Linked DNA regions of Homo sapiens: region 1 is linked to region 2. The links are contacts of gene promoters, found by promoter capture Hi-C in human tissues and cell types (Jung and others, 2019). All regions are on one chromosome and are shown on one strand. Each heading gives the region's core, a stretch centred on a gene start or on the middle of the fragment in contact. The rest is flanking DNA. Distances are from core to core; before and after follow the strand shown. Region 1 overlaps MAP2K5 (mitogen-activated protein kinase kinase 5). Region 2 holds the start of CALML4 (calmodulin like 4).

The links. The method cuts DNA at HindIII sites, captures the fragments that hold promoters and counts their contacts. A contact is called where the count stands out against the background at its distance.
Region 1: a contact is called between a fragment that was not itself captured here and the fragment with the promoter of CALML4 in region 2, in 1 of the 25 tissues and cell types used here (dorsolateral prefrontal cortex).

The regions. Positions count from the first base shown.
Region 1 is chr15:67,785,064-67,791,568 of GRCh38, reverse strand. All of the region lies in intron 21 of MAP2K5 (mitogen-activated protein kinase kinase 5), which reads right to left. Among named protein-coding and RNA genes, the nearest start is that of SKOR1, 37 kb to the left of the region's middle. RefSeq lists an enhancer at 1-715. The HindIII fragment of the contact is 5,345 bases long and covers 1-4,880 here.
Region 2 is chr15:68,200,932-68,207,682 of GRCh38, reverse strand. CALML4 (calmodulin like 4) reads left to right here and starts at 2,351. Exons shown (of 5, transcript NM_033429.3): 1 at 2,351-2,438; 2 at 2,532-2,562. The coding sequence starts at 2,436. CLN6 (CLN6 transmembrane ER protein) reads left to right here. Exons shown (of 7, transcript NM_017882.3): 7 at 1-691. RefSeq lists enhancers at 1,358-1,652, 6,391-6,751. The HindIII fragment of the contact is 22,474 bases long and covers 1-6,751 here.

The DNA of each region.
Region 1 (6,505 bases), core at 959-3,458, 420 kb after region 2:
TGTGAGCACTTACCCTGTGCCAGGTGCTCACTAGGTGCTTTCATTTACATTAGTTCATGTGATCTCCAAAAGCCCTATCAGAAAGTAAATGATAACCTATTTTATAAACAAGGACACTGCACTCTAAGATGGTAATGATGCCTGAGCCCAAGTTTCTTGAGGTTCTTGGCCTTCACAGGTCAGTCTTTCCCCACACTCCACAAGTGGTCAAAACAAGCCCCTGCATAACAAAGTCAGAGTCTGCCTTAGAGAAAATATGAAACAGGTGATTTGAAGCCCTTTGATCCTTCAGTCTTTGCCTCATCCCTCAACTCCAATGCCCCTTTTCCTGTTTAATGCAGAAGAGTCTCCTCTTCCAAAGCTTCAAAGTCATCTTATGCCAGCTAACTGCTGACATTAAGCCAATTCACAGGAAAGTATGAATAACTTAAGAAGGGCACTAGGGCCATGTGCATTTGAAAAGAAGATGCTTGGCTCCTGCCCAGCTGCAGCTCGGATGTCTCACAGGTGGACTATTCATGGCGTGAGGAGCTCTCTCTGGGTAGACAGGTAATAATTTACCTGTGGTTTCCAGGAGTCCTATGGATTTCATTCTCTACAACACAGCTTATTCCCCCTAGCTCTGACTCGTCTTCTGTAAAATATGGAGAACAGCATCAACCTCACAGGACAGTGTGTGTGAAATTCCCAGCCCAGAGGCAGTTCCATAGTCATAACTATCAGTGGCCTAAATTTTGCAGTACTTATCATACTCCTTTTCTAAGGAAACTTTTATAACACCTAACACATGTTCAGCACTAAGTGTGGCAGACATTAGGACACAGGTTTTTTTTTTTTTGTTTGTTTGTTTTTATGTGACTGGCTCTCCTGACAGCTGCAGTAGAGAATTAAAGGCTGCTCTCCACATCTTAAAGACCCTCACCACTCAGTAAGCAGCCCCTCCTCTGAGCCTCAGCCCTAAAGACCCAACTTGCTCCCCATTTAAAACAAGAATGAGCAGACTTCTGGGTTTAGAATTCCATGTAACTAAACCACAAAATAGAAAAAAGGAATCCCAACTGTTGCACTTGTGCACAGCCTACAGACAAGACGGCAGTGCCCTCAGACAGCATTTCAAATACAGTTTATTAGTGTGTGATATGAAAAGGGTATTTTTATTGCATGATATAATGCAATGGGACCTTGGGCGCTCTGTGGAAAGACCTCACACTCAGAAGTGTAATGAACCCGTAGTCCCAAAAACATTATACTGTACATTAACCTATCATTAATGGCACATTAGGGCTAGGGGCATTGCACGCTTGCTGGTCAGGGCTCCATCAGGACAGTGTTGAGAAAACCACACAGTCTTCCCAGGCTTAAAACAAATAGAAAAAATAAATATTCCTGATGTCTACAGGCTGCTTTAAAGGAAGTTCAATCCAGCTCTGCCTTGCAATTTCCAAGCCTGCTTTTTTAAGAGTGGAAGAAAGATACACAACCAAACAAAGGGAAAAGAAAACGACTCTCTTGTAGTTTACCCCCAGCTATTGGCTATTCAACCTCAATGTTGCTTGACAAGGTCATGAGCAAATAGCACCTTGGTAGTGTAAAAGCTGCCCAAAGGACACTCGGGCCTGGACCACAGACTGCAGAAGTGGGATGGGGCCTTGGAAATTGTGTCCACCCCCTTCACTGTCTAGATGGAAAAATCAATCTTCAACAAGATGAAGGAAGAGACAACACATTCAACAGAAAAACAGGCAAAGAATGTGAAAAAAAAAATGTGACCAACAAACATATGAAAGAAGTGTTAATCCTCATACTTAATAAAATAAACATAAATTAAAATGATTAGATCCTTTTTTTTTTTTGAAACAGAGTTTTGCTCTTGTTGCTCAGGCTGGAGTGCAATGGTGCGATCTCGGCTCACTGCAACCTCCACCTCCCCGGGTTCAAGCAATTCTCCTGCCTCAGTCTCCAGAGTAGCTGGAATTACAGGGTCCCCCCACCACACCCAGCTAATTTTTGTATTTTTAGTAGAGACAGTGTTTCACCATGTTGGCCAGGCTGGTCTCGAACTCCTGACCTCAGGTGATCCACCTGGCCTCCCAAAGTGCTGGGATTACAGGCGTTAAGCCGCCACGCCTGGCCAACTAGATACCATTTTGCCACTGATTAGGTTGGCAAAGATTAAAATCTGATAATTTAGTATCAGAAGAGATGAAGAAGAAGAGCTAACATTCTCATATCCAGTATACAAAGATGTATACATAGAGACACAGTCACTGTCTTAATAACAAAAAAATATGGAAATGGTCAAAATATCCTATGACAGGGTCCTGGATAAATAAATATGATACATCCATAGTATGGAATACTATACAGCCATTAAGAATAAGGTTGATCTTTATATTATATGGAAAGACCTCAATGACTCACTAAGTAAAAAAGCAAGGTGCAGAATAAAAAGAATTAAAAATTCTAGAAGGATACCCAAGCTACTATTAACAATGCTTATCTCTAGAGATTAGGGCTGGAAGATATGGAGGATTGGAAGGAGACTAACTTCTTACTGTATATCCTTCTGTACTGTGTAATTTTTTTTTTTTTTTTTTGAGACAGGGTCTCTCTCTGTCACCCATGCTGGAGTGCAATGGTACAATCATGGCTCACTGCATCCTCTACCTCATGGGCTCAAGTGATCCTCTCACCTCAGCATCCTGAGAAGCTGGGACTACAGGCAGTGCCACCATGTCCAACTAGTTTTTAAGTTTTTGTAGAGACAGGGTCTCACTATGTTGCCCAGGCGGGTCTCGAACTCCTGGGCGAAAGTGATCCTCCTGCCTCAGCCCCCCAAGAGCTAGAATTAAGCATGATCCACCATGTCTGGCCAAATTTTTAATCATAATTTAAAAACTAGTTTTAGCAAATAAATATGGATGATGGCAGGAATAAACATTGCTTATGAACCTATTATTTTCCAACTACTATATTAAGTGCTTATGTGCTTCACCTTATTTGCCTTTTTACAAAAACAGTAACAGTAAATTGGTCACTATTATCCCCTTTCCATGCAGTGGGTACTAAAGTTTCCAGGGGTGAAGTAACTTGCTCAAGGTGACTCTCTTACCCATCTACCTTCAATAATGAAGCAGAGTATTTATAAAATAGAGAAATACTTTCCAAACTTAAGACAGCCTGAGGCTACCTTCCTGGGGACAGCCTGTATAACCCAGCAGTGATACAAGGAGGTGAGTGGAAGGCAGGACAAAAGGCTGCTGACTGGCTGAGGCCAAATCAAATTTCTGGAAACATCTTATCTCCATATAAAAAAAAGGGGAGAAGGCCTGGGGGCCCCAGAGCTATACATTGTTTAAGTAAATAATGCTTGCAACCAGGGACTCAAATATATAAAGCAAAGTAGTTCCCTAATTACATATAAATCAACATCAAAGGCAACACACTTGCAGGTCCATGAAGAGGAAGCTGCCTCAGACCAGCAGAATTTCAAGGTGAGATCAGGGGCTGAGAAGTATCCAGAACAGTCTCCACACCTTAGGACGGTGCTGTGCCAACAAAGTTTACTGTTTTCTCATTCCTCCATTTTTTCCCAATTTTATTAAGAGCCTTATTATTTTTGGGTAATAGACTGCAGTAACATTTTTAAATGCTAGATTTTATTTGTCCTAGGGTCTGCCAGCACATGCTGTAATTAAAATGTTGATTAGTAAACAGTTTAAATATATGACAGACAATGCAGTTAAAGCCTACAGTTAGGTCAACATGTGATTTAGATTTGCCATTTAAAAAATCTCATTTAAATTTTGCATACATTAATCACTACCATACTTCAAGGTTCTGATATCCACCTGACTACAATATTAAAATAAAACTTGCTGCCCCAGGGAAATCCTACTTATTCTTAATTGTTTCGAGGCTTTGATGGGCTTTTAATCTAAGATTAATTTATGCAATTTTAAATAACTCTTCTTATGATTAATAAGCTTGAAAATTAAAAGGAGTCTAAAGCAATTATAATGAGCATTTGGTCATAACCTCATTAGAAGAAGGAGTGAAGGATACAGCTCTGGAATTCTTACAAGACTACAATTTAAGGTTACTTTTAGAGAAGTCAAACATAGTTCCTGAAATTGCAAAGGCAGGTTAGCAAAGGTCAGTGTTAAAATGACGGCTAGCTAGATTAGCATACTAATGATTTTCCCTGATAGTGACAGAAAGGACACAGAAAAGAAGATGCAGAAAGAGAGACAAGTGACATGCTGCCAAACAGCTACAAGCGCTGAACTCGGTTTCCCATCCTTTTGGCTAGAGACCTTCGCAAAATTTGAGAAACAGCCAAAGGGTTAGGACATTCCTATGCACGAATCAGCTTCAGCCAGAGGGTCTGGCCCACCAGGGGCAGGCGGAATCAGTCCTGTTGTCCGCCCTGCCTGCCTATCTATCATTGAACAGCCACTTCCCTGCTTAAGAACCAACAAGTGCGTCCAACTGCCCCACTACTCTCTGGTGTGCACAGCCCTTCCAGATCACACTGGCCCCATGCAGCTAACTTTACCCCATCATTTCCAAGGGTCTTTTTTGCTTTGGCTAGGGTGGGTTCTTCACTGTCCTTGTTCCCTCCGGTCTCAGCCTGTGCCATTTTCTCTCCCTGGAATGTCTTCCCTCTTGTTATTAGCAGTGATGATGATGACAATGACGATAAAAATGGTTACCATTTATTGAACACTTATTTTATGCCAGACACTGTGCTAAGTGTCTAACATTTTTATCTCACTTAAATTTCATGCTTTGCGATACTCTATTTTTGTAGATAAGCAACTAGAGGTGGAGAGCGTTCAGTAACATGTTGCAGGATGGACAGCTAGGAGAGGAAGGGAGAGGGAGGGGAGAAGCTGGCTTTCTGTTGTACCACCACTTTCCAAGTTCTGTACTCAGGCCCGAGCCAGGCATCCTCACTGACTACTACGGCCCCTCGGCCACTGTTCCGAGCTCCCGCACCACCCAAGCCAGCAGCTTGGCACTCATCTACCTTCTCTAAATGTTGCCAATGGGCATGTCTAGTCTGCTCCTGAGACATAGGTCTTTCTTATATTCTTTCTGAACCCATCATGGCACCTCACAGACCTGGACAACAAATACTTGTTGATTAACTGGTTTACAATAATTCCCTCCAACAAGATGCTCATTACATTTTACCAATAATAAAGGACAGACATGAAAAGTTATGGCTTCCAGTGAGTGGGGAGGAATGTGCTTCATCTTGTTTGGATTTTCAACCACAGAGACCACCCCAAGAGACTACCAATTCAGTGTACACCAATTGCAAACATCCGACATACATATAATTTATTCTAAGTCACATTAAACTTCCCTAAACACATGTATCTTCCAAGAGGCAACAAGCTGGAAATACCCAGGAACATCAGACAGATGAGAAAATCATGACCCAAAGAGGCTGAATGACCTCGTGCCCCATGTATGTCTCGCACTTCATAGTTTACAAACACTTTCATAACCTCCATCTTCTGTAAGTTAAAAAAAAAAAAACAACCTAACAGCTAAAAGCCCCCTGTGAAGTTGGTATCATTACCCCATTTTACAGATGAAGCAGCTCAGGCTCAGATGGGCTAAGTAAACAGCTGTTGCCTGCCCAGTTTCCTAGAGGTAGTGCCTGTACTTGAAGCTATATTTTCTGACATCCAATTCAATCTCTTTCCAGTTTCCCAGGTTGCTTCTTGGCTCACATTCACACGATAGACTGATTTGCAAGCTTTGAAAGACCATCCTTAGCCTCTCCAGGCTTTACGCACAACACATCCTGCCAGTTGTCAGATCACAAACCCTTCTACCTTTCCCCTCCTTCCATCAAGGTCATAGGATGAGCGAGGTCATGGCTCCATGCCAGGTCCCCTGCTGCCTCCACACCTCCAGCACCTGTGTTGGTGTGGACATCTGTGGGTTGTCTTCTCCTTGCTGTTTCCCCTCTCCCTTCAAGATGGACCCCGATTGTTTGGCTTCCTGTTTGTGTGACCTGACTACTTTGTTTGCATGTATGATGGATTTGTGTTTGCTGGATTAGTGTCTGATAGCCCTCTGTATTCCCTACAGCTGTGCCACTCAAGTAGTCGTCCTGTGAACTGCTTGCTGCTGGCCTGCAATGATACAAGTAGCCATGCTGCAATGTGAACCGCAAACAGCTTTCTTCGCTCACAACGTTTTGCTCCAAAAAGCTGAACTGAACTAAACAGAATGCTTTCAGACAGGCTTGATTTATATCCTGGCACAAATTCCTTATCTTCCTGTGTTTAAGAAACAGTTCGGGGCCGGGCACGGTGGCTCACACCTGTAATCCCAGCACTCTGAGAGGCCCAGGCAGGCGGATCACTTGAGGTCAGGAGTTTGAGACCAGCCTGGGCAACATGGGGAAACCCCGTCTCTACTGAAAATACAAAAATTAGCCATAGTGTTGTTCATGTGTAGTCTCAGCTACTCAAGGAAGGGC
Region 2 (6,751 bases), core at 1,102-3,601:
TTACATAGGTTACGTCAGCCTACTGTGGCTGTTGAGCAAAGCATTTCTCCTTTCTGGGCCTCATTTGCACTAGATGGGCCTGTGGTCCCAAAGTAGGTCAGTAGGTTGGGGTTGCTGACACCCCTTGGGTGCAGCTTTGGGACAGATGAGTGGCTCTGTCCTGTCACTGCCCTCTCCCTGCCTGGGGGCTATGTGCACTCCAGACCCCTGCCCAGGCTCAGGCCCATGAGGTATGGAGACACCCTGGCCCCCAGGAGCTGGAGGCACCGCCCACTCCCCTGGCATTCCAGCTTTGCAGGTGACCCTCCTCTACCCAAAGCTCTGTCCCCCTGCTCCCACTCCAGAAGAACTGCGGCACGCGCTTCGGGCAGCCTAGCCACAGGCTTTGAGCGCCTGCATTCCTGGGGGCTGGAGGGTGGGGTGCCAAAGGCCCTGAGCAAAAGCCAGAGCTCCTCTCATCAAAGCCTTTACAAGGTGCTGGGCCCAGAGGCTTTGCCTTGACAGAGTGGCCCAGGGTTTCAAGGGAGGAGGAACCTCCCCCTACCTAGGACCCTTCCTGTGGGGGGTCTACAGAGTCAGGGACAGAAGGGAAGGGACCCACAGGAAGTCACAGTGGTGCCCAGGGATGTGTCAGCCCCCAGCCACGGGGACGCGGGATTCAAGAATGAAGTAAATACAGTCACAGCCCCAAGTGGTGTTAGAGGTGTTTTTTGTCTTTTCTCCCTTTCGTGCTGAGGTGTAGCACACACGGTGCGCCCTACAGCATGGTGAGTTGCTGTATCGTGAACCCTCACGCAGCCATTGCCCCACGCTGGTGTTTTCCATCTGTGCGTCACCCCCGGAGACACCTACACACATAAGGAGGGAGTTGGCCGGGGCACCCCAGCACACACTGGCCTAACTCCAAGGAGGCACCTCATCTCTTCTGGAGCCCCTTCCCACAGGCAAGGGGATTCAGAGGGAGCATGTTGGCCTGGCCGCCTTCAGGCTTCCAGAGTCCCAAGTGACTTTCCTTGATGTCCTTCTCTCCATCCTCTGCACAGAGGCAGCCTTCCCTCCTCTTATCCCTGCCATGGGGTTTGGGAGGGGGAGCCTCAAACTCTGACAGGGAGGAGTCGGAGTCCCCAGCTAAAATTCTCTGGGTCTAGAAACAGGTGTAAAGCGATTCTGGGGATGTGATTTGGGAGAAAAGCACACTTTCCACACAGAGGCGGTCAGGAAAGGAGCGGGGAGGGGAGAGTGGGGCACAGGCAGCGCCTCCCGTCTATGCGCCTGTGTGCAAAGTGGCACAATGCCCCCCTTCCTATTGGCAGTGCAGCCCCTGGCCAGCAACCACTCGCACCTGGGCTGGGGGCCTTTGTGTAGGGCACACCTGTGCAGCCACACCTACTTGTAGAGCCTCATAGACTCAGCTGTGGACAAAAGCCTCACGCCCCAAACAGGGAAATGGGATCTCAAGGGGAAGAAGCTGGGGAGGCCTCACACCCTGCCCCCATTTCCTCCTATGTGGGGGAGGGGAGCAGCACGAACTCCTGAAGACTTGGGAGCGTCAGCAGCTTCTGCGGAAGGGGTGGGGCTGAGGGTGGAGAGAGGAAGGGAAGGAAGAAAAGGGGAGCCTTCCTGGCCAGGGTAACCGGCACTAAGAGGCCTCACTCCAAGCCCCCGAGGAGCCTGTGGTGGGGCTGGAGACCCGGCTCAGGCCCCTCCACCACCCTTAAAGTCCTCAGAAGGTGGGAACTGAACTGGCACAGGATGGGAACCGGCTGTGCGCTGGCCACTTGATTTTGCCAGCTGCCCTGTAATTCAGCTGGTGAGGAAACTGAGGCACAGACTGAGGTAGAATGATTCGCCAGTCACTCAGCAAGTCAGCAGACGGGGAGGACTGAATCCCAGCCTGAGAGCACCGAAGCTTGTATCCCTGCAATACCGAGCCCCAAGCCTGCGAGCCCCGGTGCCCATCTCTGAGTTAGGCCGTCTTGGAAGGGTTCCCTTCCTCCTACAAGATGGTGTGTGAGGAGCCTTCAATACGACCCGGGGTGTAAAGTGTCCAACTCTAGTAGGGGCCTGATGGCATCCCCGCCGAGTCCCAGGAGAGAGAGAGAAGACCCCTTCCTGGAGTCCAGGGCTCCCGGGAAGAAACACTGGCATTTGTCCCTTTGCTTCGGCTTCTGGAGGCAGAGACTCTGAGCCCAGGGAGAGCCTTCTGCAGCCCCATTTCCTCAAAAATCCAACCTGCCCAGGTGGCGGGTCATGAGCTGTGCTCAGGAAGCTGGAATCTGACCCTGGTGGCGTCGGGCCCAGTCTCCATGGCAGCCGAGCATTTATTACCCGGGCCTCCACCCAGCTTGGCAGACTTTAGACTTGAGGCTGGAGGAAAGGGAACTGAACGCGGTTCTGGGAGCAGCAAGCCCACGGGTAGCAGCCGAGGCCCCAGAATGGTGAGTGTGAGGGTCTGTGTCGGCCTGGCCAGGGCTGGGGGCGTGAACCTCAGGTGGAGCCCTCCCCTGACTGTTTTCCTTTCTCTGCTGCAGGCCAAGTTTCTTTCCCAAGACCAAATTAATGGTAGGTTGGGTTTGTTCTTTGATTAGCAACTCAGCAAAATATGGGTCTCATTAGGCAATTTGCTCTGCTCATGTTTTCTTGGTGGGAAGGAAGGTGGCTGTGGGAGAGCTGGGCCCACCCAGGGCCAAGAGCTGCGGGGAGGCTGCTGTTGGCGGGGTGGGGGTTGGGGGTAAGCCTCCAAAATAGACATGTGGCTTTATACTTGTCAGTGTGACTTACAAGCCAGGGCGCTAAGACAGAACTTACTAGGTTTCCCTCCAGAACCTGACCAGTTGGATTTGGGGACTGAGGGGACTGGGGATGGAGAGAGAGACCATTAAAGGTATGGCTGGCAGCAGGGAAAGAGGAGGGGCTTTGTAATTGAGACAGAACAGAGGCCAGGTCTGCACTCTCTGGCAGGATGCGTCTACTCTCTGCGCCTCAGTCTCCCTATCTGTAAAATGGAGGGTCCACTGAGCCCCCTTTGCCCTGGCATCAAGCCTGGTTTGGGCGTGAGCACTTTATTCCCTGGGTCCCCTACTCTGCCAGCCCTCGACCAGGCTTCAGTTTCACACCGTGCAGGGTTCTATTTCCAGAAGGCCAAGAGCAAAGAGTTGCGTTACAAAGAACTTGGGGGCCCAGACCTGAGCCAGGGGAGCCTCATGGCTGCAGCCCCCCTGCACCTGGCAGGAGAGGCCCAGGAGGCACAGCCAGCTGCTGCTTGAGGTTGTGACCCTGAAACCTGTCCCAACAGTGGACGTCAATGGGCCTGAGAGTCCCCCGAGGCATCCCATTCCTCCAGGTCTTTGCTGAAACATCGCCTTCTCAGTGAGTCCTTCGCTGACCACTGGAGATAAAATTACAGGCACCTTGGGCCCTTGTGATCCAGGGTAGGGTCCTGAGAGCCCAGCCAAGTGGGGTTAGGGTTACCTGGGCAGGAGTTCCAGAGTTCTGGGTATTCTGAGCTTGGTCCAGAGGGGCAGGAATTGTGAGCTCCAGGTGGGCACCTCCACGTAGAACCCTGGAACTCTTTATCCCAAGAGGAGGGCCAGGGCAGGAGCAGGGACTTTTAAAACACAGGGCCCGGGGCAGTGCCCTCTTGTCCAGGTCTAACGGTGATAATGAATGGTGGACTGAGGGCTGGAGTCCAGCCTTCAGCCTCAGCATCCTCCCACCCATGCCTGGTTTTGAGGCTCACTGACCCTCCCTCCTGGGATAGCCAAAGCTCCCAGAAGGGAAGAAGGTAAATTGTCTTTGTATCCCAGTATCTGACACCAAGAAAGTGGCCACCAGTGTTTAATGAGTGTGTGAAAGACTGGATGGGGTGGCCTAGCGAAGTGGGAAGAACAGGGGCTTTGGAGGCAGCAGACCTGAAGCCTAATCACCCTTGAGCCTCGGTTTTCTCACCTATGAAGTAGGATATGCCACCTTACCAGGCTGCTGCGAGCCACGGACAGAGGGGAATAATGTCAGTTACATGCTGGACGCTGGGCCAGGCATAGCCAGGTGTCACCCACATGTGGGCTGGGGCTGGCTCACTACAGCTAGCAAGAGCCATAGTTTTAGGAATTTTGCAAGCAGGATGTTAAAGCCAGCCATTATTAAATAATGTAGGATCAAACAGTGTTTCAATCCCTACATCTATCTGTACAAAAAGTTAAAAAGACAGCCCTATTGTGATCAGTGGAGATGGAGATTTGAAAGAAGTTTCAATTTAATGAATGTGTTTGGTAAAAGGGTGAGAAATAGTTTAACAGTAGATCACATCAGGTTTAATGACCATTCATTCATTGGAAAAAGAATCGCACTCATTGGCGCGCAGCTTCATTTGTCAAATCATGGTTGAATCGAAACTATAGGTTGGCAATGGATATAAGAGTTGGCAAAACTTGGGCTGAGTGCAGTGGCTCACGTCTGTAATCCCAGCACTTTGGGAGGCCGAGGCATGTGGATCACCTGATGTCAGGGGTTTGAAACCAGCCTGGCCAACATGGTGAAACCCCATCTCTACTAAAAATACAAAACTGGCCAGGTGCAGTTGGCTCATGCCTGTAATCCCAGCACTTTGAGAGACCGAGGGAGGCAGATCACCTGAGGTCAGGAGTTTGAGACCAGCCTGGCCAACATGGTGAAACCCTATCTCTACTAAAAGTACAAAAATTAGCCTGGTGTGCTGGCAGGCACCTGTAATTCCAGCTACTCAGGAGGCTGAGGCAGGAGAATCACTTGAACCCAGGAGGCGGAGGTTGCAGTGAACCGAGATTGAGCCACTACACTCCAGCCTGGGCAACAAGAGCGAGACTCTGTCTCAAAAAAAAAAAAAAAAAAAAAAAAGCCGGTCATGGTGGCACATGCCTATAATCCCAGCTTCTTGGGAGGCTGAGGCAGGAGAATCACTTGAACCTGGGAGGTGGAGGCTGCAGTGAGCTGAAATTGTGCCATTGCACTCTAGCCTGGGCAACAAGAGCAAAACTCTCTCAAAAAAAAAAAAAAAAAAAGTTGGCAAAACTCATTTGTGGTAATCAAGTGGCTAGATGGAATTTATTTATTTGAGACAGAGTCTTGCTCTGTGCAATGGCATGATCTCCGCTCATTTCAACCTTCACCACCCAGACTCAAGGGATTCTCCCACCTCTGTCTCCTGAGTAGCTGGGACTACAGGCATGCACCACCACACACAAAACATTTGTAAATATTTTGTAGACATGAGGTCTTACTATATTGTCCAGGCTGGTCTCGAACTCCTGGGCCCAAGCGATACTCCTGTCTCACCCTCCCAAAGTGCTGGGATTACAGGCGTGAGCCACTGCACCCAGCCCTAGATGGAATTTATAATAAAGAATAGTGTACATTTCTGTATTATTTGTAAATTGTGTGCTACACATCCTTTATGTTTGTACAGTGCAGAGGACACAAGTACATTTATGATCAGAGCTGGTGGTTAAACATCCAGCACAGCTGGTGTTATCCTAGGCCTTGCACAGGTCTCTTTCTTGTCCTGGGGGATTTGCATTTTCAAAGAGAAGACTTAAAGGGGATTTTTAATCCAATTCATTTAACCCAATTAATCCTTTCATTCAACAAATGTTTGTGTCCCTTCTTTGTGCCTGGAGCTACATACAACAGTGAACTCAAAGACAAAAATCCCTTCCTCACAGGGGGTCACCATCGAGGGAGGGGAACGTGGTGAAATATATGTGCTAGTATGTTAGAGGGCCGACCTGTCAGGAGAAAAAGCAGGAAGGAGAGCCAGGAGGTGAGGAGGGAGAGTGAAGAGATGGTGGAGGAAGGGGCCAGCAGGAAGCCCAGCTGGGTCTCCAGCACCCTGTTGTCTTGTTCCAGTGCAGGAATGCAAAGTTCAGATGTGGCCTTCCAGGTCTTTAAAGGCGTCTGAGGCAGGGAGACAGCACGTATCTGATGTGAAGGTTTGTGAGGAGGTGGGCCTCTATTTGAGCCCTGGCCCTGCTGCTGGCAAGGACCACAGGCCCCCAGTGACTGACAGGGCTTGTCGGGGAGTAGTGAAGTGCCCCCATCTGCAGATCCAGGCTGATTCTGGACCCCAAGGGTGTGATGAGCACCTTCCAGCACAGGTCAGGCAGGGAGAGCAGTGGGCCTTGGGCCCACCCTCACCCAAGGGCAAACCCAGACAGAAAGACAAGGTGAGGGTGGCCATGAGAGGTCCCCAGGGGTACCCCCTGTAGTGCTAAGGTTAAGCTCTGTGATTGGGGCAGCCCTCTCTCTGTCCCCCTGACGTGAGGTGATGGCATTGTCCCCTCTGGCACTGGGCCCTCTTGCAGGCAATTGGGTTTTATGGGAACTAAACCTGGGGTCTTAGGCCAGGCTCTGGCCCTGCTTCCCCTGGGCCTTTTTGGCCCCTGCCACCTGGTCCTGACTTTGGTTTGCCCCTTCGGAAGCTCAGGCTCTGGAATGTTCTGAAAGGGCAGTTGTGCGGGGCTGGGGCTTTCCTCTCAGTCTCTCCACAAAGGCCGCGAATTTGTCTCTAAATGGTACATGGCGATCTGCCTGTCTTTAGTGACCCCCCTGAAATCCTACCAGGGAGGCCTGAGTGCCTTCATTAGGGAATATGAAGGGACCCCTGGTCTGGGCTGGGGATTTGGGGGGCTCCTTCTGCATCCTCTCCCTCACCCTACTGCTCTCAGTGGTGTCTGCCCTGGAACCGAAGGCAGTGTGGCCTGGTGGGCAGAGCTGC